Regions from separate parts of the Homo sapiens genome. Here regions 2, 3, 4, 5, 6 and 7 are each linked to region 1. The links are contacts of gene promoters, found by promoter capture Hi-C in blood cells and fetal thymus (Javierre and others, 2016). All regions are on one chromosome and are shown on one strand. The core of a region is centred on a gene start or on the middle of the fragment in contact, and the rest is flanking DNA. Distances in the headings are between cores, read along the strand shown.

Evidence for each region. Contacts are between HindIII fragments. The CHiCAGO score rates a contact against its expected background, and 5 or more counts as called.
Region 2: a fragment that was not itself captured here is called in contact with the fragment with the promoter of TTC27 in region 1 in 1 of 17 cell types (total B cells); the score reaches 7.7 in total B cells.
Region 3: a fragment that was not itself captured here is called in contact with the fragment with the promoter of TTC27 in region 1 in 14 of 17 cell types (total B cells, naive B cells, fetal thymus and 11 more); the score reaches 20.3 in total B cells.
Region 4: a fragment that was not itself captured here is called in contact with the fragment with the promoter of TTC27 in region 1 in 7 of 17 cell types (total B cells, naive B cells, M2 macrophages and 4 more); the score reaches 20.3 in total B cells.
Region 5: a fragment that was not itself captured here is called in contact with the fragment with the promoter of TTC27 in region 1 in 1 of 17 cell types (total B cells); the score reaches 9.7 in total B cells.
Region 6: a fragment that was not itself captured here is called in contact with the fragment with the promoter of TTC27 in region 1 in 3 of 17 cell types (naive B cells, total B cells and M0 macrophages); the score reaches 8.1 in naive B cells.
Region 7: a contact is called between a fragment that was not itself captured here and the fragment with the promoter of TTC27 in region 1, in 5 of 17 cell types (total B cells, naive B cells, M2 macrophages and 2 more). The highest score is 8.5, in total B cells.

What each region holds. Positions count from the first base shown.
Region 1 is chr2:32,626,764-32,629,333 of GRCh38, forward strand. It overlaps TTC27 (tetratricopeptide repeat domain 27), which reads left to right and starts at 1,287. Exons shown (of 20, transcript NM_017735.5): 1 at 1,287-1,617. The coding sequence starts at 1,530. LOC124905985 (a long non-coding RNA gene) reads right to left here and starts at 15. Exons shown (of 3, transcript XR_007086273.1): 1 at 1-15. RefSeq lists enhancers at 487-1,148, 867-926, 1,149-1,808, 1,337-1,396 and a silencer at 1,647-1,776. The HindIII fragment of the contact is 6,273 bases long and covers 1-2,570 here.
Region 2 is chr2:33,611,710-33,614,279 of GRCh38, forward strand. All of the region lies in intron 1 of LOC105374455 (a long non-coding RNA gene), which reads left to right. Among named protein-coding and RNA genes, the nearest start is that of FAM98A, 14 kb to the left of the region's middle. The HindIII fragment of the contact is 638 bases long and covers 975-1,612 here.
Region 3 is chr2:33,578,013-33,580,582 of GRCh38, forward strand. No RefSeq gene overlaps it. Among named protein-coding and RNA genes, the nearest start is that of RASGRP3-AS1, 9.9 kb to the left of the region's middle. The HindIII fragment of the contact is 627 bases long and covers 978-1,604 here.
Region 4 is chr2:33,556,835-33,559,404 of GRCh38, forward strand. RASGRP3 (RAS guanyl releasing protein 3) reads left to right here. Exons shown (of 18, transcript NM_001139488.2): 16 at 1,377-1,502; 17 at 1,838-2,196. The region is part of intron 3 of RASGRP3-AS1 (RASGRP3 antisense RNA 1); the gene reads right to left. Among named protein-coding and RNA genes, the nearest start is that of RASGRP3-AS1, 11 kb to the right of the region's middle. The HindIII fragment of the contact is 2,761 bases long and covers 1-2,570 here.
Region 5 is chr2:33,537,455-33,540,024 of GRCh38, forward strand. It overlaps RASGRP3 (RAS guanyl releasing protein 3), which reads left to right. Exons shown (of 18, transcript NM_001139488.2): 12 at 1,640-1,756. Among named protein-coding and RNA genes, the nearest start is that of RASGRP3-AS1, 31 kb to the right of the region's middle. The HindIII fragment of the contact is 4,282 bases long and covers 1-2,570 here.
Region 6 is chr2:33,517,922-33,520,491 of GRCh38, forward strand. RASGRP3 (RAS guanyl releasing protein 3) reads left to right here. Exons shown (of 18, transcript NM_001139488.2): 5 at 2,031-2,093. Among named protein-coding and RNA genes, the nearest start is that of RASGRP3, 43 kb to the left of the region's middle. The HindIII fragment of the contact is 3,312 bases long and covers 1-2,570 here.
Region 7 is chr2:33,499,908-33,502,477 of GRCh38, forward strand. All of the region lies in intron 1 of RASGRP3 (RAS guanyl releasing protein 3), which reads left to right. Among named protein-coding and RNA genes, the nearest start is that of RASGRP3, 25 kb to the left of the region's middle. The HindIII fragment of the contact is 5,355 bases long and covers 1-2,570 here.

The sequences.
Region 1 (2,570 bases), core at 37-2,536:
AGGACATTTTAGGGCATCCGCTCTTCTCCAATCACAGTCAGGTCCGGCTTCCTTTGGTATCTGATGGCAATGGCTGAAATGAGCTGAGCTGAGTTCCTCTCCCTTCACATTCTGGAGTGGCTCTTTACTGAGTAAGAAAGTGAATTAACATTTATTTAGCTTCTTCCTTGGAGCTGGGTACCGGGTCAGCCTCTTTTCAGAGAGCTTTTGCTCTTGTGGTCAGAGTTACCCTGCAGTTTTCTCCTGGCTCTTACATGACATATCTCAGTACAGGTGTCAAGCCAATGGGACAAAGCCATAGTCCTGTTTTCCTTCCCTCCTTCCCTCCCTCCCTCCCTTCCTTCCTTCTTCCCTCCCTCCCTCCCTCTTTCCTATTGCCCAGGCTGGAGTGCAGTGGCACCATCTCAGCTCACTGAAACCTCCGCCTCCCGGGTTCAAGCAATTCCCCCGCCTCACCGTCCCGAGTAGCTGGGTTTACAGGGGTGCCCCACTACGTCCGGCTAATTTTTGTATTTTTAGTAGAGACGGGTTTCACCATATTGGCCAGGCTGGTCTCGAACTCCTGACCTCAGGTGATCCATCCGCTTCATCCTCCCAAAGTGCTGAGATTACAGGCGTGAGCTACCGCGCCCGCCCTCTAACTGTTTCTTTGGAGTGCTGCTAGGAAGATTCAAAGAAGTGCAAATAAGGTACCAGCGGAGGCTGGTTTGTCTCCTTGCAATTTCTTTGTGATCACCCCTGGGATCACTCTTCTACAGCGTTCCGACAGTGTTCCAAAAACTTCCCTGCACCAGCGGCAGGGGCAGATTTCCCACCCGGCCATGATTCATGTAGAGCAGTGTCAAAACCAGATCCTTTCCTTACACGCTCATTCGCCGAAAGACCCATGCTATGCTGACGGGGTTCCAACCTGGGCTTCACCGACTCCACGTCAGAGGGTCTGTGATTCCCTGAGAGGGTACCCTTAGGCTGAGAGCAAGGGCCCACCTGCACTCTGCGCGAAGGACTGTGGTTTTCATCGGGTTGTCGAGAGCGTTCTAACCCAAAATGCTTTAAGAATCACAACTCTAGCCCTTCTAATCAAACTGCTTTGGCCAAGACGTCCGTTTTGAGTTGCATTTGAACCCTAGCCCTCGGTGGGAGGCACACTCACTTCCACGTTCACAGTTCTTGGAAGCGGTCCCACTGGGGGCGGGGCTGAGCGCGACCGCGCCCTCAACTCCCCCTATTGCCCGCCCCGGGGTGGGGCATAACCACCCAACAGGCTCCTTACTCAAGCTCGGGTTCTTCTCCTAGGCGGAAGCCAGACCAGAGAGCGTGCGTGTTTTTCCCAGGGTGCCCCGCGCTGCTGTTATGGCCGCCTCCTTGAGGTAGTATCCGCACATGGAATTCTAGGGCCGCAGGTGTATTTACGGTAACTGTCGCCACTAGATTTCAGCGCCTTTGGACTCTCCTGTTTTCACTTTCTTTTGTTGACTCCCGTGTGGCCCTCGTGGGAGCCTGTTTTGGCTGCAGCGGTGTCTGGGGTGATGTGGACCCCGGAGCTGGCAATTCTGAGGGGATTCCCCACTGAGGCTGAGCGGCAGCAATGGAAACAGGAGGGGGTCGTCGGTTCAGGTGAGAGGCGCACCTACCGGGCCTTAGGCTATCGTGGGAACTGTGAGGAAAAGGGATGGCAGCGACTGATTCTCATCCCTCCCTTCATTTTTCCCTAACACAGTCTAGCTGATTCCTTGAGGCTTTGGGTCGTTTAGTCTTTGACATGGTGGGCGTGGTCCTCACTTTCTTTGCGCAAAACTTCTTACCGCCCAGGTTCAGTAATAATGACAATGGCAATGTCAGTTATTTTTCTAAGCCCTTAACATGTACTCAGTCATTTAATGCTTATAGTAGATACTTAAGGTAGATTCAATTTTTAATCCCATTTTGCGGTGAAGATCTGTAAATACAGTTGGGTTAAGTAATTTTATTTTATCTATTTATTTATTTATTTATTTATTTATTTATTTATTTATTGAGACGGAGTTTTGCTTTTTGCCCAGGCTGGAGTGCAATGGCGCGATCTCGGCTCGCTGCAACCTCCGCCTCCCGGGTTCAAGTGATTCTCCTGCCTCAGCCTCCAGGGTAGCTGGGATTACAGGCATGCGCCACCACGCCCGGCTAATTTTGTATTTTTAGTAGAGTCGAGGTTTCACCATGTTGGCCTAGCTGGTCTGGAACTCCTGACCTCAGATGATTCGCCTGCCTCAGCCTCCCAAAGTGCTGGGATTACAGGCCTGAGCCACCGCGCCCGGGTCTGGTTAAGTAATTTATTTAAGGTCACACTGTTGGTAAGCAGAGGAGCTAAAATGAGGCAGCAAAGTTGTTTTTTTGGGGGGATGGAGTCTCCCTCTTGTTGCTCTGGCTGGAGTGCACTGGTGCCATCTCGGCTCACTGCAACCTCCGCTTCCCCGGTTCAAGCGATTCTCCTGCTTCAGCCTCCAAAGTAGCTGGGACTACAGGCATGCACCACCATGCCCGGCTAATTTTGTGTTTTTAGTAGAGACGGCTTTCATCATGTTGGTCAGGCT
Region 2 (2,570 bases), core at 44-2,543, 980 kb after region 1:
GCTCGTCTGGAATTGCCCTCGTGGGTCTGCCCATGGTTCAGCAGCCCCCCTCCAGTGATGGATTCAGAGGCCAGCCCAAGCAGCCACCTAGTTCTCTTGGACTGGAGGCTAACTCTGGTCCTGTTTCTACTGGTGGGGTGCTGCCAACCCAACATGCAAGGATCTAATTGCAATAGAGAAGTAGTCCTGGGGAGACGTCCCATAACTGTATCCCCATCACAGGGTGTCTGTCTGTAGGCCCATTGCAGGGTGTCTGGGTTGGTGAGTATCCTAGGCACTGCCAATGCCTCCTTCCTTCTCCTGACTGGTTCTCTCGCCCCATGGTGGAGTGTCTGTCTGTAGCCTCATTGCACAGGGTGTCTGTTGCTCCACCATGGGGTGTCTGTCCTGGTTTGGCTCCTGAAAGGCCTTGGTTGGCTCTCCCTAAATAATAGGAAGGGTATTGGTTGAGGAGACTTCTCCTCAATCAGGAAGATTTCGGGGAGATTTCTCACATGGAGAATAGGAGGATAGTTGGGAAGGTATACTCTGGAATTCTTGGTTAGGGATCTTGATTCGGAAGGCCTTCTGTCCATCTTGTCTTTGTGTATGTGTTTGTATATGTGGAGAATATTTCTGAAGGAATTGCTGATGGAAGTCTAGCAGGCCTAACTCAGAGAACCCTCCTTATCTATCTGGTCACATTCAGTGAGTCCGGAAAGAAGTTTAACAGGCCTGATTGAGGGTAACTGCTCTTCATCTTGCCCAGAGACAACCCATTGAATTCTGGATTGGAGGTCACCCCTCCCCACCTTGAGTGGATCAAAGACAACAGGGACCAATGGGAAAAAGTTTCAGCATTGCCAGGTTGATGTTGGGTGCTGAGCGAGGTGACCAGTGTCCATTGTGTTATGTGTATTTTGCTTCTGCTGGGATGGAAAATGTTAATTTGGTTCCCTATGCAGCTCATCAGGCAGCATCTTGCATAATTGAGAAGCTTTTGCTGATGGTTTCATAAAACAGAAAAGGATTATTTTCTTTTGTAATGGGGCTTGGTCGCCGACAGCTATGGCACAGTGAACAGGGCCATCAAAAGCCTCTCCATTCTTCTGGAAGCTGCAGAGAAAGGGGACCCAGAAACCTGGTATACCAGCAAAAAGGGTAAGAAATTCTTATCAGTCAAGTTTCTGGCCTGCCTCTCTTTCTCTTTCTTTCTCTGCATGTCGGGTGATGGTAAATGATAAACATCACTGTGTCTCCTCTGCAAGGGTTTTATTAATAGTAAAAAAAGGATTTGTGAGACTAGTCATAGGCTATAGCAAATCTGGTGCACTTTGTGCCAAGAATTTGTCTTTCTGTAATGGAGAGGAGGGTATCACAGGATAGAACGTGGGCTTAGGACCCCTGTAAGCCAACTTTTCAAGCCAGCCTGGCAGGCTGGTCCGTTACAGACTTTGCTGCGAGTCCCTGAAACCAATACCAGATGAAATTTGTCTTGTTTTGTGTCCTTAAGAAGTTAACATTGTGACCATGTGGGGATACTTTATCTTGGTCTCCACCATCCAGAGGACAGGAATTTTGGGGTTCATGTCACAGCCTTAAAAATTACCTTGAGCAGTTAAAAGTCTTTGCAAGCTTGAAATTGGCTGCTGCAGACTTCTTCTGGGAGAAACAATGCTCAGTGCTGTGTAGTTTAGTAGCTAAGGCTTTATCTTTTGACAGCGGTGGCCCAGGTTCAATTCTTGGCTTCCGAATGATTCCTTTCTGGTTTGTTATTTGTGTAACTTTGCCATGTATGGAGGTTCCCTCCCTCTCCCCATGGATAGCTTCTGATTTCCTGTCTTGAATTTTCCTTTCTCTGAACTAACCTTGGGAAGATTCTAAATCTTGTTAAAAAAAAAAGAAAAAGAGAAAAAAAAGAAACTGCTTACCATCTCTTTAAAACACCTTATGCGTTAATGGTTAAGTTATAACCTTAGTTAAGACTTACTATTTCATGTGGGAGGTTACCTGGGGTAGAATTCAAAGGCCGGAAATATTGGCTGTCCTGGCTAGAGTCTGGTAATAAGAGATTTAAAAAAGAATTTTTTAACAAAAGAACTCTGTGGTTAAAATTGGCTTAATTAAAAATGGATATTCAAGCTATATATATTTAAAAGACTTTTTTTCCTTTTCTTGAATCATGTTTTTCTTCTAAAGAAAAGGGAAAAATGTTTTTCTTATCAGTCAACTAACCTGTTTTTCTTCATTTTGTCTTCTTGCCACTGTTGATGCCCACATGAGAAAACATAAGATAATTACTAACAGCCTGGGCTGCCTGGGGAAAAACAGGAGGTACCATGGACCCCATTCTGGGAAAAACTTCTGTTTTCCCATGGAACCCCAGGAATTGAAAGAAAATAAATCCCTCTCAAAATCTAAGGCTCTGTTCTCTTTTGCACTGTGTTAGCTGATGGTTTTGACTTTTGGGGGTATCAAACATTACTTTGCATTGCATTAGCTGATGATTTTGACATGTGGGGGTATCAAATTACTTTGCATTTTAGCCTTGGTGTATAATAACTAGGTAGAAAATATACTTTAAGGGATGG
Region 3 (2,570 bases), core at 41-2,540, 950 kb after region 1:
GAAAAATGCTTTCCATTACTTGTATTTTTTCCAGAGTAAGCACTTAAATAACTTGATAAGGTGTTAACCTTAAAAGAGTGGCACCACAAAATTTAAATTTATTACATTTCATTATCATTACAAATGAGATTTTTTAAAAAGCCCTGGCTCATCCTTTTAGGTTGTAATTTACTTTTTGTTTCATTACAAAATTTTTCACTAATTTCTACTATTTGAGGGTTAGAATGAAGCAAATTTCTCTGTAGTTAGACATTCGTGTAGTTAACTTGTGATTGATCATCTTCCACACCATATCACATAAATTGGTTTCTATTGGAAAAGAAACAATTCTGAAGCAGTTAAACCTTGAGAGATAATACAGCTGGTGTTGACTAAGGCCTTGATAAGTGCTGGAAATTTTGCATAACTCGGAATAAACTTACCTGTTCTGAGGACTTGATAGTACTTTTCATACATTTTGCAAAATAAGCCTGTTATCTCGACCATTTTGTAAATGCCTCATAAGAAGCCAGGCGCTGTGGCTCACACCTGTAATTCCAGCACTTCGGGAGGCCAAGGTGGGAGGATCGCAACAGCCCAGGAGTTTGAGACCAGCCTGGGCAACATGGCGAGGCCCTGGCTTTATGAAAAATGAAAAAACTTAGCTGGGTGTGGTGGTGCCCACCTGCAGACCCAGCTACTCGGAAGGCTGAGGTGGGAGGATCACTTGAGCTTGGGAGGTCGAGGCTGCAGTGAGCTATGATCACTCTAGTCTAGGCCTGTCGTTCATGCATTTATTCATTTATAAACCAATAAATAAAGAGAGAGTACTAGATATTTGAACCCCTAAATAATTCTATTATTGATACTTTTGGGTTCTTAAAGACTTTCAATTATATTTTCTTTAAGACTTCCCTGGCTTTTTGTAACCTTTCAGAGTACATCACTTCATTCCACTAAATGTTACACTGTTATTTTACTCAGTCCTTTCTCAGTGAAGCTTCTAGAACTACAGTGGTCCCTTGGTATACAGGAGATTAGTTCCAGGACCCCTGAACTAATGCACATACCAATATGCACACATAGTCAAGTCCACAGTCAGCCCTGTGGAACCCACATATATGAAAAATCAGCCCCTCCCTATACGGAGGTCTTTACATCCTGTGAATACTGTATTTTCCAGCGGCATTTGGTTGAAAAACTTTCTCATATAAATGGATCTGTTGTTCAGGGTCAACTATAATCTAAATTTATGGTTTATTTTCTCATTCTTTCCTTAAACTCCAGAAAACTGGTCTCATTTTTATTCTGAAACTGCTCTTGAAAATGCCACAAGAAAACAACACCAACACAAAAACGCCGCAAGACATACGGCTATTTTTCAACTCTAGTTCGTTGAATTTCTCTGTAGCATCTGGAATTGTGCATTACTGAGCTCTGGAGCCAGATGGCCCTAGGTTTATTCCAGCTCCCCCGCTTACTAACTATATGGATATGGGCAAGTCTTCTCAACTATCCTGGCTTCATACTCTTTACATGTGAAAAGAGGGTTAATAGTAGTACTCATGTTGCTCTCAATAAACAGTAATAACAGTAATAAATTACCATTCTTACTACCAACCCTAAGCTTCCACAACACTGTTCTCTAGGTGTCCCTCTTACTCTGTGACCCTGCTCCATCTATCCCTTAACTGATTAATCCTTAAGATTCCATCCTTGGTCCACTGCCCCTTTCCTCCCTTTTTGGATGGTTTAATTTGGAATCATTTTTCTGATGAAATGTTTCAATGCAAAAATCAGTGGATGTTGATCATTCCCAGACTTCTATCTCCAGGCATTTTCTGGAGTTTCAGACTGAAATCATTTCCCCCAGCCCACCTTTCCCCCTTCTTCTAATTTCGATTTCAATTGGTAGTTCATCATCTACTCAATCACAAACCAAAAAAACCAAAAACCAAGGTTCATACTACATTTCTTGTTCTAATATACTCCTATAATATTTGCCTCCGACATAATTCTCAAATCTGCCCCTTCTATACCCTTACTATGTCTACCACATTAATTTAAGCTCTACGCTTCTGATTCCAACCTTTGCCCTCCTCCTTGAGTCTATCCCCTACTCTTGAGCCAATAATTTACACAGAGCCAAACTTGAATATGCCGTGTTATTGGTATACTACCGTACACAAAGTAGCTCCAAGTTACTCAGGACGGCATGGAGAGCCCTCTATTACCTGACCCCTGCAATCTTTCCAATTTCTGCCAATTTCCACCCCATATAAGCAATACAGAAACACCATGCTCTCCTAGTACCCACACATAATTTTCATTATTATTTATGCTACAATTACCTATGTTTCTGGCTCTGTCACTCAGTCCATGCTGAGACATTTCTCAAGCCATGGACTTTCTACCTCAGCCCAGCACAGTGCTAGAATATAGCAGACACTCATTTTTACTGAACTGAACTACAGGCCTTTCTTCTTCTTTTTTTTTTTTTTTCCCTGAGATGGAGTTTCCCTCTGTTGCCCAGGCTGGAGAGCAGAGGTGCAATCTCGGCTCACTGCAACCTCTGCCTCCCGGGTTCAAGC
Region 4 (2,570 bases), core at 1-2,500, 930 kb after region 1:
TTGCCCAGCAGTGAGTCATTAGTTTTATTCTGGTTTCTATCCTCATACCCTAAAATACACACACACACACACACACACACACACACACACACACGCAATTTTATAAAGATGAAAATCTATTACACCTTTGGATTATCTCTTGTATTTTCTTAATGGCACATAAAGTGAAAAAAAAAATGAATTGAAATAGATTGAATACATCATTAAGACTATTTGAAACAAGGTCACTTAGGGGAAAATGGGTACTGGAAATAGTTAGAAAGGTCCTCCTTGATGGTAGGAGAGAAATGATCATCTCTATTCAATGATTCTCAGTGAAGTGCAGGACCCTCATCATAGGAAATAATTGTGAACCACCATCTGAAGTGGCCACATTTTTCTACCCCAAGTAGTAATTAACATTCTACTGTCTTATCTAAAACATCCTAATGGGCAATTCACAGACTCTGCTGCACGCTGTTTCAAAGCCATAAGCAAATATAGAACATATTTACTGAGCATATGCCCATCTTGTGTTCTGTTGGAAGCAGAAGATATAATCACTGGCCCTGAAAGGTTTTGGAAAATGAAGAAGAGTAAAAAAATCCAGACAAGGCCGGGCACGGTGGCTCACGCCTGTAATCCCAGCACTTTGGGAGGCTGAGGTGGGTGGATCACGAGGTCAGGAGATCGAGACCATCCTGGCTAACATGGTGAAACCCCGTCTCTACTAAAAAATACAAAAAATTAGCCAGGTGTGGTGGCGGGCACCTGTAGTCCCAGCTACTCGGGAGGCTGAGGCAGGAGAATGGTGTGAACCCGGGAGGCGGAGCTTGCAGTGAGCCGAGATCCCGCCACTGCACTCCAGCCTGGGCAATAGAGCGAGACTCCATCTCGAAAAAAAAAAAAAAAATCCAGACAAGTGCTGAGTGGAGGAACACCTCACAGTAAATGATCAGAGGCAGTTGGCCTGGGAGAGACTAGAAGCTGAGGCTTCTTGCCCTAATGCTGGCATAGGCTCTCTTTGTGGGGATTCCGTCTAAGCCTGGGAAAGACTCTCAACCCCATTTGATTTGCATTTAGTTTTGGGCAAAGGCAACTGACCTCTCAGGCTGGACTCTATTTACTCCCTAGGCACAATTGCTCATTAGGTCCTCAATTGCATACAGAACCAAGCTGAGCAAATCTAAGAGAATTTTCGGAACCTCAGGAAGGCAAGTGCAGACCAATGGCCTCTTTCCAGATCCTAGACACACCCCATGGGCCTGAGCTCAACTCTGAAATTCAACACAGAAACTGGGGTGGGGGAGGGGAGGGCTGACAAATCAAGTGCCACCCTGGAAACTGAATCAACATCAGACACACTAATCATCTGCGACACCCTTGGAATTTTTCAGACTGTGGAGCCAATTGTCACAAACAGTGCAAAGACCTCCTGGTTCTGGCCTGCAGGAGATTTGCCCGGGCGCCCTCCTTGAGCAGTGGTCATGGGTCACTGCCTGGAAGCCCCTCGCTGCCCCCAGGTAATGCCCTCTGCTTTCTTTGCTGCCATGGTCTCTTTCTGCTTGCCTCCTCACACTTGGACCTCATTTAGGTTCTGGGTCTAAACCCGGTCAGTCACTCTAAACGCTAAGGCCTTCTTTAGGGTGAGCAGCAGTAGCTAAACCCTTGAATCATCCTTGCTTCTCTCTGCTTTCTAGTCTCAGGAATATGTAACTTGCCTGCGGCTAATTGAGTTCTGTCCCTTGTCGGTTCCTCTAGAATGTTGCATGCCAGACTCGTGCTGTTTGCACTAACCTTGATGCTTTGCTGTCAAGCAGTCAGATGTCAAATAATCACCACCCTTTTTCACTTCCAGCGCAGGATGAGGTGTTTGAGTTCCCTGGAGTCACTGCTGGACACAGGGATTTAGACAGCAGAGCCATCACACTGGTTACAGGCTCTTCTCGCAAGATCTCTGTGAGGCTACAGAGGGCCACCACCAGCCAGGCCACCCAGACTGAACCTGTCTGGTCAGAGGCTGGCTGGGGGGACTCGGGGTCCCACACCTTCCCTAAAATGAAATCCAAGTTCCATGACAAAGCAGCAAAGGACAAAGGCTTTGCCAAATGGGAAAATGAGAAGCCCAGGGTGCATGCTGGTGTGGATGTTGTAGACCGGGGCACGGAGTTTGAACTTGACCAGGATGAAGGAGAAGAGACCAGACAGGATGGTGAGGTAAGTGCTAGGTCAACCCACAAAGAAAACCAGAAGAAGGAGGCTGAAAGTGCTGAGATGAGCGTTACAGAGGGTCTGGGGGGCAGCCTGGTAGTTCTGAAAGCAGAATGGTTGGGAATGAAGACATGTATCACTTTTAGTCTTGCCACTGCCTAGCTATGTGACCCTGGACATATGTTTCTTCTTTATGGATCTCAGTATCATGATTTAAAAAAATTGAACGAGATCAAGTTCTGAAACCTATTGAAGGCTGTCATGTGTGCGTACTGAAATGATGCCCCAGAAACCCATGACTATATATCCAAAATACCAGTACACGATACAGATCAGCTTGGTTTTCCAAGCTAGAACCAGGGCCCAGACTCAAGAAAGGC
Region 5 (2,570 bases), core at 71-2,570, 910 kb after region 1:
CTCAAGCAATTCTCCTGCCTCAGCCTCCCAAGTAGCTTGGACTACAGGCATGTGCCACCACATCCGGCTAATTTTTTTCTATTTTTAGTAGACAGGGAGTTTCACCATGTTGGCCAGGCTGGTCTCAAACTCCTGGCCTCAGGTGATCCACCTGCCTCAGCCTCCCAAAGTGCTGGGATTACAGGTGTGAGCCACTGTACCCAGCCTCTATAAATATAAATTAAAAAGAAAAGATAGAAAAAAATAGATTTGCATGTGTGCACCAGCAAAAATGTTGACATTTTATGAAGGTTTCAGGGAGAGGATATAAAGTGAACACCAGTCTTGGCTGGTCTCCTGAAAGGATTGTGTTCTGTGCTTGTGTTATCCAAGCATGTTATGCATTGTGCTACCATCTTCCCCACAACTTTATATGCAAATGTCTTGTAAGAATGCAGAAAAATCTGTGGAGAAAGAAAGTTCACCAAAGAGGGCCAGAGAGACCTAATGATTGGCAGAACAGTCAGAAGTGCTTAAGCGTATTGAGCAAGGTGCAGACGTAAGGACATAAACTTGGCCACCCACTGGTACCCATTTGCTGCATGCACCATAACTGATCACTAAGTATTAGAGAATTAGATAACTGGTGTTTTTGTATCCTGTATTACACAAAAATCCATGATGGATTGTTATATAAAAGTTTTAGTGATATTTGGAGAACTCGGATAGGATTTTTGGATGGACTGGGAGCGCATTGCTTTTTTCCCATTTAAAATAATGGAATTTAGTCTGGATGTGGTGACTCACACCTGTAATCCCAGCACTTTGGGAGGCCAAGGCAGGTGGATCATCTGAGGTCAGGAGTTCGAGACCAGCCTGGCCAACATGGTGGAAACCCGTCTCTACTAAAATTACAAAAATTAGCTGGGCTTGATGGTGGGTATCTGTAATACCAGCTACTTGGGAGGCTGAGGCACAAGAATCGCTTGAACTTGGGAGGCAGAGGTTTCAGTGAGCCGAGATCATGCCACTGCACTCCAGCCTGGGTGACAGAGAGAGACTCTGTCTCAAAATAAATAAATAAATAAATAAATAATAAAAATAAAATAATAGAATTTAAGTTGCTGTTAAACAAAAGGCAGTATCTAAACATGCATTTAGTTACAGATTAGATTCCATTAACATAAGATGCTTGTTTTATAAGCATTTAATAGCTATATAAATGTAAGTTTCTACTGGTATTATGAATATACAAAACTTATTCATTCTTCTCAGTGTCCCTGGTCCTAGTTGTTCAAGGCCCCAGTTAATGTTGAAAAATATGGCCAGGCGTGGTAGCTCATGCCTATAATCCCGGCACTTTGGGAGGCTGAGGCCGGAGAATTGCTTGAGCCCAGGAGTTAGAGACCAGCCTGTGCAACATGGTGAAACCCCATTTGTACTAAATATACAAAAATTAGCTGGGCGTGGTGGCACACACCTGTAGTCCTAGATACTTGGGAGGCTGAGGTGGAAGGATGGCTTGAGCCCAGGAGGCAGAAATTGTAGTGAGCCGAAATTACACCACTGCACTCCAGCCTGGGCGACAGAACCAGACCCTGTCTCAAAATAATAATAATAATAAAGTTGAAAAATATGTGGTTTTTTTTTTGTTTATCAGCAGCCTACCTCCCCTACGACGCCCAACAAGCCTGTGGTACCCCTGGAGTGGGCATTAGGGGTGATGCCAAAGCCAGACCCCACGGTCATCAACAAGCACATAAGGAAATTAGTGGAGGTAAGTGGTTGAGGGAGAATAAAGAGAGGGCACTAGAAGACCCTTTCTCTTTCCAGAATGTTCTGCGATTGTCCAGGAATCTGATGGAACCCCTGAAAACAACCCTCTGGCAGGTAGGAACAATTTAGCAGGCACTTAGTCCTACCAGGCATTGGGTCCTGGGGAGAGTCGATCAGAAAGGCCCTTTTCCCTTTGTTGTCTCTCTTGCCCAGATACTCTCAGCTACTTCCAGCTCCTCTCTTTCACAGGCATTTGCCACCTCTGTCATTGTCAACAGCTCAAGGGATTGGGGATTAGAATCACTCATGAAAAACCCACATAGGTCCCACTAAGATGCCCAATAAATTGATTACCCAAGGGCAGGAAAGAAATCCTGTAAGTTGGATAGTTTCTCCTTTTGTATAGTTTTGGAATTTTATGACACAGCAGCCCGATGTTACTGAGATTAGAAAAATCACCTAATGTAGGACAAGGCTCTGTCAGAGTTTTCCGTGTAGAAAAAAGAGTAGGGCCGGGCGCGGTGGCTCACGCCTGTAATCCCAGCACTTGGGAGGCCGAGGCGGGCGGATCACGAGGTCAGGAGATCGAGACCACGGTGAAACCCTGTCCCTACTAAAAATACAAAAAATTAGCCGGGCGCGATGGCGGGCGCCTGCAGTCTCAGCTACTCAGGAGGCAGAGGCAGGAGAATGGAGTGAACCCGGGAAGCAGAGCTTGCAGTGAGGTGAGATCGCGCCACTGCACTCCAGCCTGGGAGACAGAGTGAGACTCCGTCTGAAAAAAAAAAAAAGAAAAGAAAAGAAAAGAAAAAAGA
Region 6 (2,570 bases), core at 30-2,529, 890 kb after region 1:
GCTCATGCTATATCCACAGTGCCTGGCATATACACAAGCTCAATAAATATTTGTTAAAAAGAATATGAATAAATACGCTTACAAGTAAATAACACAACTTGAGTATTAATATACCTGAAAATGACATTTTCAAATATTAAAGAAGAAATTAGAGTACCCATACAGTTACACATAACATAACGACGGGGATACATTCTAAGAAATTCATCATTCGATGATTTCATGATTGTGCAAACATCATAGAGTGCACTCACACAAGCCTAGATGCTGTAGCCTACTACACACCTAGGCTATATGATACAGCCTATTGGTCCTGGACTACAAACCTGTACAGCATGTCGCTGTACTGAATTCTATAGGCAACTGTAACACAATGGTGGGTATTTGTGTATCTAAACATAGAAAAGGTGCAGTAAAAATATGGTATAAAAGATAAAAAGTGGTACACCTGTATAGGGTGCTTATCATGAATGGAGCTTGCAAGACTGGAAGCCGCTCAGGGTGAGTCAGTGAGTGAGTGGAGAGTGAATGTGAAGGCCTAGGACATTAGTGTACAATATTGTAGACTTTATAGACACTATACACTTAGGCTACACCAAATTATAAAAATATTTTTCTTTCCTCAATAATAAATTAACCTTAGCTTACTGTAACTTTTATACTTTATAAACCTTTAAAAACTTTTTAGTCCTTTTGTAATATACACCTTAAAACACAAATATATTGCACTGCTGTAAAAAATATTTTCTTTCTTAATATCTTTATTCTACAAACTTACTCTATTTAAATTTTTTTTTTTACTTTTTAAACTTTTTTCGTTAAAAGCAAAGACAGAAACACACGCATTAGCCTAGGTTTAGGTTTACACAGGCTCAGGATCATCAATATCACTGTCTTCCACCTCTATCTCTTGTTCCCCTGGAAGGTGTCTGCAAGAGCAGTAACAGGCATGGAGCTGGTCATCTCCTATGATAACAATCCCTTCTTCTGGAATAGGTCCTGAAGAACCTGCTGAGGCTGTTTTACAGTTAACTTTTTAATTTTTTAAGTAAAAGGAGTACTCTAAAATTACAACAAAAATAATATAGTAAATACATAAACCAATAACAGTCATTTATTCTCAAGTATCATATACTATACATAACTGTGCACACTAGACTTTTATATGACTCACACAACAGCAGGTTTGTTTACACCACCATCACTACAAACACATGAGTAATGCATTGGGTTACAACATTATGCTGGCTACCATGTCACCAGGCAATAGGAATTTTTCAATCCCACTATAATCTTATTGGACCACTGTCACATATGCAGTCCTTCATTGACTGAAACGTTGTTATGTGGTGCATAACTGTATAAGGCATTAATCCTAAATACAAAATCTTTTTGGTTAAAATAGTGTTTCTCGGCCAGGCGCGGTGGCTCACACCTGTAATCCCAGCACTTTGGGAGGCCGAGGTGGGCGGATCACAAGGTCAGGAGATCAAGACCATCCTGGCTAACACGGCGAAACCCCGTCTCTACTAAAAATACAAAAAATTAGCCAGGCATGTTGGCGGGTTCCCACTACTAGGGAGGCTGAGGCAGGAGAGTGGTGTGAACCCGGGAGGCAGAGCTTGCAGTGAACCGAGATCGTGCCACTGCACTCCAGCCTGGGCAACAGAGCGAGACTCCATCTCAAAACAATGTAGTGTTTCTCTGTACTACCAACTTTAATTATGTATAGTTGCCAGACTATTTGTAATTACAGTTGGCAGTTATTGGTTAATAAGTGTGGAGGAAGGCAAAACTAATCCTGTAAGTGGCTTCTTCTTCAGACCAAAAAAATGCATTCCAGAGCTATAATAAATCAAGTTTCAATTGTTCAGTGTGGAAGTCATCAGAGGCCACTTCTCTCCGTATTTGAGTGTCTATATAACCCCAGCATGGTCCTCTTATTAGGAATTGGTATACATTGAGGGCACAGCTGCAGGGGTGTGCAAAGGAAAGGAGGTGCAAGGATTTTTTTTCTTTAACTGGTTTACGTATCGAAATGCCACTGGAGAAAGCTGCAATGAATTTCGATTAAAGATCTGCTACTTCATGAGGTAAATATATTTACAAATTTAATTTCTTGTAGTTTCTGGTTCTGGAATCGTGGACAATTTCCTTTTCCCCAAGCTGCAGACCTAGTTTGACAACAGACTCTACTCTGATACCCCTCCCACCAACTTTGTTAAAATTGGCTCTCCTCTGTTGGGTGGGGTGGGGGGAACTATCTTTTGGACTAGAGATCAAGTAGTAGTAAATGTGATTACGGAATGAAACTAGCTCTTAGAAAGGGTGGATTTATTTTCTTCTATTCCCTCACCACACCCATTCCCATCTACTCACCATGAATTGAAGGAAGGGTTTCCTCTCAACTGAAAGAGAGGCTATGAGTGGGAGCGGTTTTAGATTGAAGGAGGGCAGAGAGAGGCTCCATGTGATGGATGGGGTTTTGGAGACAGGAGATGGCTAATTTGAAGTGTGGTCCTGGATGGTCCTGGACTTGGTGTTAAATGTAGTCTGTAAAACGGTACAAT
Region 7 (2,570 bases), core at 29-2,528, 870 kb after region 1:
AAAAATACAGTTTTGTTCTTAAGCCATTGGAGAGACCGACAGAACCATTCAGTAACATAAATTTTACAAAGCTAAAGGAAGTCAGTACACTGAGTGCCAAAATCCACCTGGAAGGGTGAGGAAGGAAGAGGAGAATTCTGGAAAAGGGAGTAGGGGATTGCCAAGCGTAAGTATTGGGAGAGGAGAGACATTCAAAAAAATAAAGAAACAATGTGTGCAAAGCATGGGGTCTGTGAAACCAGAGTTCCCTTTCACAGCAGTATCACATGTGCTGGAGTAAAGAGAGGAAAAAGGAGGGAGGGAATGCAGGGGGCAGGCTTTGTATGCCATGGAAAGGACTTTCTATTTATGTAAGACCACAGGGAACTGTGGAAGAATTTTGGAGACAGGAGTTCCGCAATCAATCTGATAATTTGGAAAGATTGATTTGGGCCCAGGAGAGAGGGGAGATAAACAGGAACTGAGAACCAATATAGAAGTCTGAGAAGTGAGCCATTGCGGTGGGCCAGGGGATACGGGATGACAGCTTGAACCCAGGAGAGGCGGTGGAGATGAAGGGCAGTGGGCGAGGAGAAGAAACAACTGGGAAGTAGGTGATCAGACTTGGGCATGAGGGATGGCAAAAGAGAGTGCTAGGAAATCTAGGGTGAGTCCCAAGTTTCTGGCATGGAATACTGGGAGGCAGGTTGAGCCATAGACCAAGGAAGGAAATATGGGAGATATAGCAGGTTAAAAAAATGAGAAGGAGGTGGGTGCGGTGGCCCACGCCTGTAATCCCAGCACTTTGGGAGGCCGAGGCAGGCGGATCACAAGGTCAGGAGTTTGAGACCAGCCTGGCCAACATGGTGAAACCCCATCTCTAATAAAAATACAAAAAGTAGCCGGACATGGTGGCGCGCACCTGTAATCCCAGCTACTCAGGTGGCTGAGGCAGGAGAATCGCTTGAACCTGGGAGGCGGAGGTTGCAGTGAGCCAAGATCGCACCACTGCACTCCAGCCTGGCAACGGAGCAAGACTCCGTCTCAAAAAAATAAATAAATAAAATAAAGTGCACAGTTCAATGGTATTTAGTGTATTCACAAGGTTCTTCAACAACTAGCACTATCAAATTGGACAGCAATTTTATCACTCCAAAAAGAAACGGTGAACCCACTGCAGTCAATTCCCATTCCTGCCTTCCCTCAGTGCCTGGCAACCACTAATCTCCTTTCTGTCGCTATAGATTTGCCTATTCTACATATTTTCTATAAATGGAGTTGCACAATATGTGGCCTTCTATGTCTGGCCTCTTTCACTTAGTATAACATTTTCAAGGTTTATCTATATTGCAGCATGTATCAGTACCTTGTTCCTTTTTATCATTAAATAATATTCCATTGTATGGAGATATACTTCATTTTGTTTATCCATTTGTCGATTGATAGACATTTGGGTTGTTTTCACTTTGGGGAAATTATGAATAATACTGCTATGAACATTTTTCAATTCTCTTGGGTATGTACCTAGGAATGAATTTGCTAGATCATATGATAACTCTATGTTTAAGTTTTTGAGGAGCTACCTAACTCATTTCCAAAGTGACTGTACCATTTTACATTTCCACTAGCGATGGATGAGGGTGAGATACGAAAACTCACCCAAATGTTAAGTAAAACTTGTCCAAAGTCACATGCTAGTAAGTAGAAGAGCTAGGTTGCAATCCCAAGTCCACCTGTCTCCAAACCCTACTCCCTTCCTCTGCAGTTTGCGTGTAGCTTGTCTCTGTTTGGTTTGGAGTCATCAACGTAGAGGTGGTAGCTGAAGCCACTTCTGTGGATGAGTTCAGCATGGAGACATGAGAACCGTTGGCAGTTTAGAGGCCAGCAGTAGGAAAGGAGTCTGCAGATGAGACGATGAGGTATGACCAGAGGCAGAAAAACCAGGGAAGAGATGTTGCCAGGAAAACCAACCAAAAGGAGAATTTAAGGGAGGGTGTGGTCAAGAAGTACTACACTGCGGCTAAGCCTTAGCATAAGAAGACAATGAAGAGAGCTTAGCGGGTGTAATGACTTTTGCCAGAGTAGTTTGAATAGAGTATGAGGGCAGGAAGTAGAAGGGGAGTTAGACAGAGCTTGATTTGGGTGGTCTGAAGAGAGGATCAAATAGAACCAGCAAATTCTACTTGGCTGTGAGGGATGGGAGAGATGGCCAGTAGAGGGTTGCTAAATTTTGTTTGTTTGTTAGTGTTTGGTTTTGGCCAGAAGACACCTCACGTTTATCTATGTAGAGGAAATACAAGGGGAGTTACAAGCTAGAGGAAGGAGAAGTGGTAAGACGCATGAACTCTAGACAGTTACACCAAGGAACTGGTGAAGAGAGAAGAAAGGCATGGTGCTGTTTCTGTGTGTGGAGGTGGGTGGGGGTTGGGGGGTGTAGATACCTTCACATGGTAGGTCAAGGGAAATTAGTTCACTCTGGGCTTCCCTTCATTTGTCTTAATTTGCTCACACTTTAGTAAATTACAATTGATTAATTCCTCCTTTTACAACCTACCAACAACATCCTTATTCCTATTCCTTGGTCTCTTTTA